2 separate regions of the Homo sapiens genome follow, and region 2 is linked to region 1. The links are contacts of gene promoters, found by promoter capture Hi-C in blood cells and fetal thymus (Javierre and others, 2016). All regions are on one chromosome and are shown on one strand. Each heading gives the region's core, a stretch centred on a gene start or on the middle of the fragment in contact. The rest is flanking DNA. Distances are from core to core; before and after follow the strand shown. Region 1 holds the start of IL22RA1 (interleukin 22 receptor subunit alpha 1). Region 2 overlaps STPG1 (sperm tail PG-rich repeat containing 1).

The links. Contacts are between HindIII fragments. The CHiCAGO score rates a contact against its expected background, and 5 or more counts as called.
Region 2: a fragment that was not itself captured here is called in contact with the fragment with the promoter of IL22RA1 in region 1 in 13 of 17 cell types (M0 macrophages, naive B cells, total B cells and 10 more); the score reaches 11.3 in M0 macrophages.

Annotation. Positions count from the first base shown.
Region 1 is chr1:24,141,082-24,146,220 of GRCh38, reverse strand. It overlaps IL22RA1 (interleukin 22 receptor subunit alpha 1), which reads left to right and starts at 3,081. Exons shown (of 7, transcript NM_021258.4): 1 at 3,081-3,181. The coding sequence starts at 3,139. The HindIII fragment of the contact is 5,016 bases long and covers 1-3,614 here.
Region 2 is chr1:24,376,860-24,381,998 of GRCh38, reverse strand. STPG1 (sperm tail PG-rich repeat containing 1) reads left to right here. Exons shown (of 9, transcript NM_001199013.2): 5 at 2,176-2,346. Among named protein-coding and RNA genes, the nearest start is that of STPG1, 34 kb to the left of the region's middle. The HindIII fragment of the contact is 1,067 bases long and covers 2,300-3,366 here.

The DNA of each region.
Region 1 (5,139 bases), core at 1,832-4,331:
TTTTTGAGACAAGGTGTCACTCTGTTGCCCAGGCTGAGTGCTGTGGTGCAGTCATGGCTCACCGCAGCCTTGATCTCCTGGGCTCAAGCAATTCCCTGCCTCAGGCTCCCAAGTAGCTGGGACTACAGGCATGTGCCACCACACCTGGCTAATTTTTTATTATTTATAGAGACAGTGTCTCACTATGTTGCCCAGGCTGGCTTTAAACTCCTGGACTCAAGCGATACTCCCTCCTTGGCCTTCCAAAATGCCGGGATTACAGGCATGAGCCACGGTGCCTGGCCTCTGGAAGGACTTTCAAAGTGAGATGTTATGGGCTGGAGTTATCAAGAAGGGCCATATCGCAGAAGAAAACTGTCTTGGTGAGATTCGAGGAAAAGGGAATTGGCTAAGGGAGTGGAAATGGCATTCCAGGAGGAGGATAGAGCCCCAACAAAGGCTTGTCTTTAATGCCGATTTGTTATGTTTAGTAACCTTGCTTTCCCTTAATATAAATTAGTGTATTTCCTATATTAACTTTAGGAAATGCAGATAAGCAAAGGGAAGAAAAGAAAAATCACCTACAATTCCACTACCACCCAGAGATAACGCCCCTAGTGTTTTCATCTATATCCATGAAGACACGCAGTTTGCTCTGCGTGTGCAGGTGTGCGTTTTAGCCAGGGTGGTACTGTACATAGGTTATGTTATGCCTCTTTTCACTTGAAAAAATATGATGAGTCTTTACCAGGTCACGAAACATTTTTCTCCAGCATTATTTTGGAAGCTGCATTTGTCTTGCTTTGGGTGGACATACCATTATTCTTTTAACCAAACCTCTATTGTCAGACATGGAGGTTGTTTTCATTTTTTTCTCCTTTTTTTTTTTTTTTTTTTTTTTTTTGAGACGGAGTCTCGCTCTGTCGCCCAGGCAGGAGTGCAATGGTGCGGTCTCGGTTCACTGCAACTTCCACATCCTGGGCTCAAGCAATTCTCCTGCTTCAGCCTCCCGAGCAGCTGGGATTACAGGTGCCCGCCACCATGTCCGGCTAATTTTTGTATTTTTAGTAGAGACAGGGTTTCGCCATGCTGCCCAGGCTGGTCTCGAACTCCTGATCTCAGGTGATCTGCCCACCTTGGCCTCCCAAAGTGCGAGATTACAGGCATGAGCCACCACGCCCCACCTATTTTTTTCTTAAACTGTTAGAAATGAAGTCTGGGTGTTCCCACATTCCTTAGCAATCCAGGTGTCTTCCTTCCCGTTAATTCCTACATAACCACAGGCCCTCGAAACTACAGGATGCCCTTTTCCTCCATCAAGTTCCTTCTTCCAGTGCTTCTGAGAGGCCCCAAGGAACACTTTCGTGTTCCACAGACCTGTTGGGGCTGCGTCTTGTCCTCTCGGCCAGCCACTTGGGACCAAAGCCTGCTCTTCTCCCTAAGCGTCCCTTGTAACCTGTTTTTCTCGCTGTAGCTTCCCCACACTGCCTTGTCATCAAAGTCATCAAAAACCCTCTATCCATCATGGTTCATTCAGTAGCACAGAAACCTCTCCAGTCTTTCAGACCAAGGGACTTTAATGTAAAGGAGCTCGTCACCCAGAGGATGAAGGAGCTGGGACACTAATCAGGACAGACAGTTCAGAGATTTCCCCAAAGCAGGAAGCTGTGCCATCCCACCAACTGAAAGGAAAGATGAGGGGAGAAGGTGTTGCCAGAGCCAGGAGCTGGCCTCCAAACAGGAACAAGAAAGACATAAGGGGTTGCCTGGCTGATGGACTGTCCAGAGGGAGCCAGAACTGCAGAGGGATATGGCCATTGCTGGGGAAGCCACTCAAACAGAAAACGAGGGGAGAAATGCTCTGATCTCTGCCTCCCCAGTCTTCCCCCAGGGGCTAAACCTATCAGAAAGCAGTTGATAAAGGAGTCTAGAAAATGTAGTTTCCTGCAGTTTCAGGAAATGACTGGCATGGGCCCTACCTTAATTCCTCCAAAGCACAGCTTAGATTTGGCTGTTTTGTCAAACAAACTTTAGCAATCAGGGCTGATAACAATTACAATTCAGGAAAGAAAAACTTAAACACCGATCTCAGCATATCACAGCCCATTACACCCAACCCGTTGGCAGGATCCCTGCTAAAATTTCGCTTGCCTTTGTGTGCTTGGGGCCAGGCAAACTCTCCCCAGGGGCAGGACCCTCCAATCGTGTCCACCCTGACCAGAGTCCAGGCCCCAGGGCCCTTCTACCTTCTCCAGGCCCTGCAGGAAGGAGAAAACCATTTCCTAAACACCTGTCCCTTCATTCACACGAAGCTCATGTGCAGATCCTGCCCTACGTGGCAAAATGATGGGAGAGCAGCCTGAATCTTCATCGTCCCGAACCAAAGCCCCATTCATGAAGTTCAGCCCCATCTCTAGCACAGCAGAAAGAATCACTGAAGTTTGAGTTCCATTTTTTTTCTAAACTTTTGCAGATCCTAGACCCAAAGGCTCAAGGTAAGAGCGGCTGGGCTTCCTCACCCCCAACGGCCTCTCTAGGGGAGAGCTGTTCCCAAGCCCACCCCAAGCGTGGGGACCTGCCTTGATATGGAGGATCAAGGAGGAGCATCGGGTGCCCTCAATCTCCTCCTGCCAGAAAAGCAAAGGAGTCACAGCTTTTCCTTTGCTGCAAGAAACATTCTGGGACCTTTTTTTTCCCCCTCTGTTGTCCAGTTATTTTCATCAGGGTAAATCCCCTAGGAATAGAATTATTAAAGCAAAAGATATGTATGTGGTGTAGGCTTTTGATCCACAGTGCCAAATTGCTTTTTGATAAGGCTGCATATCGTGGATTATTCTTGCCTTTTCTGCCCCTCAGCTCCTTGATAAACCACTTGGGATGAATCAGCCACCGGACCAGATAAACAAGCCAGCCTGTTACTATTGCTGTTTTCTGCAAGTCGGAAGGGAACTCCCTTAGATCCCGCCCAGAACCTGGAATTCCAGAGCACACAGGGCCAGGACACCTTTGTACCCCTGCTCCCCACCGGCACAGGTCCCACCCACCCCCTTCTCCCCGCCCCATGCCCGGGTGGAGCCAGCTGCCAGGGCGCCAAGACTCCCAGCCCTCTCTCTGTGCACGGCAGAGTAGAGGCCAAGGGAGGGCTCTGTGCCAGCCCCGATGAGGACGCTGCTGACCATCTTGACTGTGGGATCCCTGGCTGGTGAGTGCCCATCTACCCTGTGGTCAGACCTCCCTTATCCCAGGGGCCAACGATCAGGGTCATCTCCCCAGCACCCTCCCCAGCCCGAGCATAGCCAGTTTCAGTTTCTCCCCTGCTAGGGCTGAGCAGGGTGCCGGGTGTTCACGGAGAAGCAAATGCCCAGCTTAGTTTGCTGGGGGCATGAGAGGGTGCCTCAGACCCTGGGTTCTTCCAGGGACCCAAAGGACCCTCGGGTCTTGAGGGATATAGCCAGCTGTCTGAACTGGGGGTGCTGGATCGCTGCACCTCAGTGAATGGAGAATTGGCCTGGAGGAGGCAGACATCCTTCGGTCCCTCAAACGGTGTCGGCACAGTTTGTACCATCCTTCCTCTGCCTCTCACTTGGCACTGGCCTGACAGGGGAGGAGGAGGAAGGACCGGGGGAAACGAAGCTTGAGTTCACTATTGCCTCCCTCCATGCCCCTGCAGGGCCTCTTTGGCCCCTTTTGTTATCATAGATCTGAAAGAGCATTTTCTCCTAGAGTGGCCAGGTCTGCTACATTAATAGGTCTTAAGACACAGGACTCATTTGGAAACAGGTCTTAAGGGCATAGTGTTCAAAGCCAATAAAGTGAGCGGAGTGGGGGGCTCATCATTATGGAGAACGTTACATGAGACCCTAGACTCTCTCTCTGCTCTCCTGGTGCATTGCATGAAATTCAGGGAACTTCCTTAGGAAGTCAAAGCATAGTCCTGATTGAGGATGGCGAGCAGGTATGGCCTCGGCCAGGCCCTCCTTGCTCAAGTGCAGGACGAGGCCCACGAAAAGGCAGAGCTTCCCACCTTCTCTGCCACTGTCCCGCCAGGGCTGCCTGCGTCTCCAGGGCTTCCAGCTCTGTGGGACCCCCTCCAGTCTGCTTCCCAGCATCAAGCTGGGCGTTCCAGGAAGATGTGAGGCACCCCCTTGAGGCACCAAGACACGTCCCTTTAGACCCTCAGCCATACTGGTTAGAAATCCTAGAGGCTCCCAGCCCTTTGAGATGGGGGACCCCAAGAAATAGCCCTTAGGAGATTGTCAAGGGTCAGCTGCCTCGCGCTGCACACACCGGGCCCTCACCCCCCCAATCTTAGGCTGACTCCAGAGCATGTGGAATTGTTTCTTGTTTGTGTATTTTTCCTTAGCTTCCCAGCTGGTTGACAGAACATTGTTTTTCCACATGAATGTGAAAAAACAAGTTGCCTTTTATAAATCCGCCAGGCTGCCAGGCTCCACACAACACATGTCTCCCCAGATTTCACAATATAGACTTTCACCCGGGAAGTGCCGAAGCAACACAGGCTGAGGAATGGATGATAGATTTGAGGAGGAAAAGGAGCGAGGAGGGTGGGAGAAGAGGGGGAGATCTTGTTAGACCCTGACATCCCTAAAAGACAGGAGTGGGCCTAGGTTCACTTACCCCACTTCAGGAAGCTAACTGCAGTTCCCTCCTGAAAAGTGGTGCCAACCTCCACGTAGCCCAGGGTCCTTTGCCTTGGCAACATGCCCCCACCTCAGCCACCAGCCTCCTTGCAACCCAGATGGGCCCTCTATTTCCCACCCAGAACACTGACCTCAACCAGCAACCGTTCCCGCTGCAGACTCTACCCCAAGCCTTGATGGAGCCTGGCTTCTCAAAGCCCACCCTCACCCTTCTGCCCTGACCCACCACCCAACCAGAAGCCACTGTTCAGGTCTGACCTTGACTGGACTCCTTTCCTCAACTTTAGACTCAGCCCTGAATCCAGGACCCCTCCCTCCAGAACTGACCCCAATTCCACCCAGCCTCACATCCAAACAAGATGTCAGCTACATCCTAAGGCTCCACGGCACAGCCGTCACCTTGCGTAGAGGCAGTAGACCCCTCCCCGCGCCATCCCTAAGGCCCCATTCTGGGGACTCCAGGAAGCCTGAAGACATTTTGCAGCTGCTGGGCCAGAAC
Region 2 (5,139 bases), core at 1,584-4,083, 240 kb before region 1:
GTTATGTTACACTCAGGTATAAGCACTTAAGGTCCTGTACCTGGGGATGGGTGCCTGAAGTGGTCGATGGCGATCTATTAGGAGATCTCTGCGTTTTACCTCATTCCCGTGTGAACTGGATGAGAATTTCATATCCCCCACCCCACCGCCTCTTTCAGTAACTTTCACCTTTAGCACCTCCTCCGCTTCTGCATCCCAAGACTTAGAGGGAATTAAAAGTAGCTCTCATCAGAGAAAGATCAGAATGACCAGTAGGAATGTGATTATGGGTGAGGCTGACCAAAAAACTCTGTGGGTCTATAAATTTTAGAAACTTCCTCATGACTGTTGAAACAACTACACCCAACCTTTTGAGAGACCTGTCATCTCTCTAAGTCTGAATGATATAAAGAGCTTTATTAGTATATTCCAAATCTTTGCTCCAGAATCTTCCACAGGACTGACTAGGAGAAGTGTATGAGGCAGGTGGGTGGAGAGTTTGATGGCCTCTCTGTATTTGCATGCTGGCAGGAGTGGCTCTAGAAAAGTTAGTAGGTGCTGGAGAGAAGTTCATAAATGCCGGCATTTGGCCAGATTGGAGGCCACAGGCCTGGCAAGTAAACCAAGGGGTGTGTAGTGTTGGTGAGTGAGTGTTACTGTAGCCACATTCTGAGACTAATTCTATTACGATACTTTATAAAACATTGCCTCTACTGGGACTTTTTTGGGAAGAAGTTTTTTCATTTTCAAAATGTAAGTTGTAGGTGTTCTAAACCAAAAAAGAGTCTATGATTGAATGGGCTTGCTGTTATCCCAGAGCCATGTCGCTCAACCCTTTCCCCTTTAGAATGGGCTCTCTGATCCATGTCATGTAGTGGAGGCTGACTGCTTGGGTAGGAATGCTGGTCCTCCGCCTGAATTAGCTGGGGAAGTTCAGCTTCCTCATCTGTAAAGTAGAGATAATCATAAGATCCACTGCTCAGGGTTGTCCTGAGGATTCAACACAAAAACCCACCAAAGGTATTGGTTAACTCTTGGCCAGAATGAAAAAGATGAAGCACGTTCAAAGCTGGGGTGACCTTACTTCTAGGAGCATCAGCAAATCCTTACACACTGCATGTAGCCACTTCTTATTAGAATTCGAGTTTGGCAGAGTTGGATACTCAAGGAACAGATCAGCGTTGGAGTTAACTTCCCATTACTGAAGAGGCTGGGGTTGAGCTGGGGCTTGAACCCAGGTTAGGCTCTGAACAACTTAGGCTCTGGACAAGAACACTCCCGCTTCTGGTGCTACACCCCCCCAAATGCTAGTGGGGGTCCATAAACCAGACGCTGAGGACCGTCACCACCAAGCACAGAGTGAAGTAGGGGGGCCCTAATGCCTTCCTTTTGGCTCACCCACTTTCTGTGTTTGTGTAGTTATTGATTCCTATCAAGTGAGAAAATCCAGGGCAATGTTCTCAAGCTTTTGACCATTAAATAGTGGGAAATTTTTTGTTTTATCAGACTCCAATACTTGCCATGCTATCTTAGGGGAAAGTGATGTTATCACTGAGTTTCTGTGACTTTTGTCCCTGTTCTTTTGACAAACATTGATTCTGTTTGTTTTTTAACTGAAGATAATTTATCGTGGCTTCCTGAAAGGGTGGGATTGGTTCTGTTAAACCGTGAAAATACTGTAGGATTTGATGAAAACAGTAATTTGGTGGAGGGTAGGAGGCACAGATGGACAACAAGCCCCCTGGAGCTTTGTTTGAAGCAAACTCGTTGCTTAGGCAGTTCAGATCATTTAACCTTAGAAACAAGATGTGAGATTTTACTCAGAAGAAAAGCCTAGGCTGAGAAGAGCATCTAAAGCTTCCTATCACATAAATTACCCAACAGCTGATGAGTCAAGGGTAAGTGGCCTGGAACAGGATTGGGTGGAAATGCATTTATGGCAAAATCATTTTTGCCAAGTCCCAAACAGAAGATGAATAATTTGAGTTAGTTTACAGAAGCGAGTACAGGTCTGAACTTGCGTTTTCCAAGGGAAGATCCTCAAAGCCTGAGGTCAGTTTATCATTGTTACTGCCAGAGTTTCGCCTTTTATAAAATGCATTTAGACCTTGTGCTGGTCACCATCTTTTTGACATCTGTCCTTCAGATCCACAATATTATGTGACAATGCTGATTCCTTTGGTTGTCTCCTTACAGTGCGCCCGATTGGACACCATCATTTCTAAATACCCTGCAGCGAATGCATACACTATCCCATCGGATTTTATTTCCAAGAGAGACTTTAGTAATTCGTGTTCCAGCATGTTCCAGTTGCCAAGCTTTATGAAAGCTCTCAAGTTTGAAACTCCTGCACCAAACTATTACAATGTAAGAACTCTGCCTATGCTTGCTAAATACAGATCGAATTAATGGTTTACTAAAATAAAAGGAAGAGGGGATCTTGGGGACATCGTATTTTAATGCAGTTGTCAAGCCAGTTAGCATTTGTTGACTACCCAATGGGTGCCTAAGGCTGTACAAGACTCTTACAGGGAATTTGCAGACCCCAGAGATCAGGATGGGCAACATGGAGGCCAGTATCAAGCTGTGGGGAGGCCACTGCCCTGAGAAACACATATTCTAATTACTCTTGTCCTGTAACCTTTCTGGGACGTAGTTTTCTCATCTGTAACAATGGGTGTATTATTTACCACTTTGTCTGCAGCCACTAATGATTTACTTTTTAGGTTCTTCTAGGGAAAATAAACTTTCATATCAGAAAATAGGTGTTTTAACAGTCGTGCCCTGCTGTGCCAATTATGATCGCTTTGTATTCACTGACGCAGAATGGCATGGATGGTTAAGAGATGGACTCAGGAAGGTTTGGTTTAGCTCTCATCTGTTGCCACTTTCTAACTGTGCGGCCTTCGGCAAGTCCCTTAACCTTTCCAGGGCTTAGTTTACTGATCTGTAAAATGGTGATGTATGTTCACCTCATCGTGTTAATGCAAATATTAAATGAGATAATGTATGCTTCATGCCCAGGACAGCACCAGTCACACAAGGACCACACAATACATGGAGATTGGTAGGGCTGTCTTTGTTAGTACATGAAGGGTATTTACTTACCCTTAAATACAAGCAAGTAAGTAAGTCACAGCCCCCACTGTACAATGGAATCAATTCTACTTGCCCTACAGGGTTACCATAAGGCAACGAACGTGAAAGCACTCTGAAGTGCGCAAGATATGAATTGTACTTAAGACATTAATGTTATGCCATTTTCCAAACTATTTTGGTTTTATACATTTATTATACCATTTCCTTTTTTCCTTCATAATATTGATAATTAATAATTATTTTTCTGACTACAAAAATCCTGCCCACCTTCTATGATGGATTCAAGCTTTTTTTTGAGACGGAGTCTTGCTCTGTTGCCCAGGCTGGAGAGCAGTGGTGCAATCTGCAGGCTCCACCTCCTGGGTTCACACCATTCTCCTGCCTCAGCCTCCCAAGTTGCTGGGACTACAGGCACCCGCCACCACACCCGGCTAATTTTTTGTATTTTTAGTAGAGATGGGGTTTCACTGGGTTAGCCAGGATGGTCTCAATCTCCTGATCTCGTGATCCACCTGCCTCGGCCTCCCAAAGTGCTGGGATTACAGGCGGGAGCCACCGTGCCCGGCCTCATTTAAGATTTTCTAGTAGCCACATCTAAAAAGAAAAAGGGACAGATGAAGTTAATTTGAGTAATATAGTTTACCCAACAGATCCAAAATATTATCATTTCAACACTAATCAATATAAAAGTTATGAATTTTATATTTGAGGAAGACTATTTTCCTTGTAGTGAGTCTTTAAAATCCAGTATGTGTTTTATTCTTCCAGCACATTTTAATTTGGGCCAGCCACGTTTCCAGGGCCAATAGCCACATGCAACCTGTGGCTACTATACTGGGCAGTCCAACTCCAGGCAGTCTTCCCTCGGCATAATCAGAGCCTGAAAATGATGAGGAGGAGGAGGAGGAGGATGAAGCACTTCTCATGTACTAAGTGCTGGTCTAAGAGTTATGTATTAATCATATTTAATACTCACAAGTGAATCCATAAAGTGGATTATCTTGTTCCCAGTATAAAGAAGAGAAAGCTAAGGCTCAGAGAGGTGAAGGGACTTGCACAGTTACCCAGCTTGAAGGCATCATTTGCACTTCAGTGGGCACCAGTGGATGGCTGGGGTGGAAAGCTGGGGAATGATCAAAGTCACCTCATTCCAGCCCTGACAGGCTTCCCTCTGTGGATCCTGTTGCTCCTCTGTGCCAGGCTGGTGATACAGCTTAGATTCCAGTGGGGAATTCAGAAAAGAACAGGTAAACAAACAAAATAATTACAAACTGTGGTCAACTTTGAGGGACAGCTGGAGCTTGAGGGAGAATATGTGGGAGATATGGAGGTTGGCAGTACCAAGTCAGCCTTCTCTGACTTGGTGGTCAGAGAAGGCTCCGAGACTGAGACCCAAGGATTGAGGAAGAGCCAGGGTTGGAGAAAGAGCATGTGCCAAGGTCCTGGTATAGCAAGGAGCCCAGCCCACGAGGACCTTCAGGAAGGTTGAGTGGCTAGTGTAGGATGAGCAAGAGGAGAAGGGAGAAGGGGGCACCAGACAGACACCGGCCAATTCACACAGGGCCCTGAAGATCCCAGGAGGAAGTTCACATTTTGTTCTCTGGGTCCTAGGAAGCCCATGAGTGGGGCTGGAGGTATGGGGTGGTGTGATCTGATGCTTTTTTTTTAGATGGAGTCTTGCTCTGTCGCCCAGGCTGGAGTGCAGTGGCACGATCTTGGCTCACTGCAACCTCCGCCTCCCCAATTCAAGTAATTCTCCTGCCTCAGCTGGGATTACAGGCACATGCCACCATGCCCAACTAATTTTTGTATTTTTTTTTTTTTAGTAGAGATGGGGTTTCACCATGTTGGCCAGGCTTGTCTCAAACTCCTGACCTCGTAATCCATCCACCTCGGCCTCCCAAAGTGCTGGGATTACAGGCATGAGCCACAGCTTCCAGCCAATCTGACATATTTTTTAAAAAGTTCCTTCCAGCTGCTGTGTGGTGAATGGACTGCAGTGTGGGTTGGAGAGTGGGTTCTGGAAAACCAGCGAGGAGATTATTATGCTAACAGGAGAGA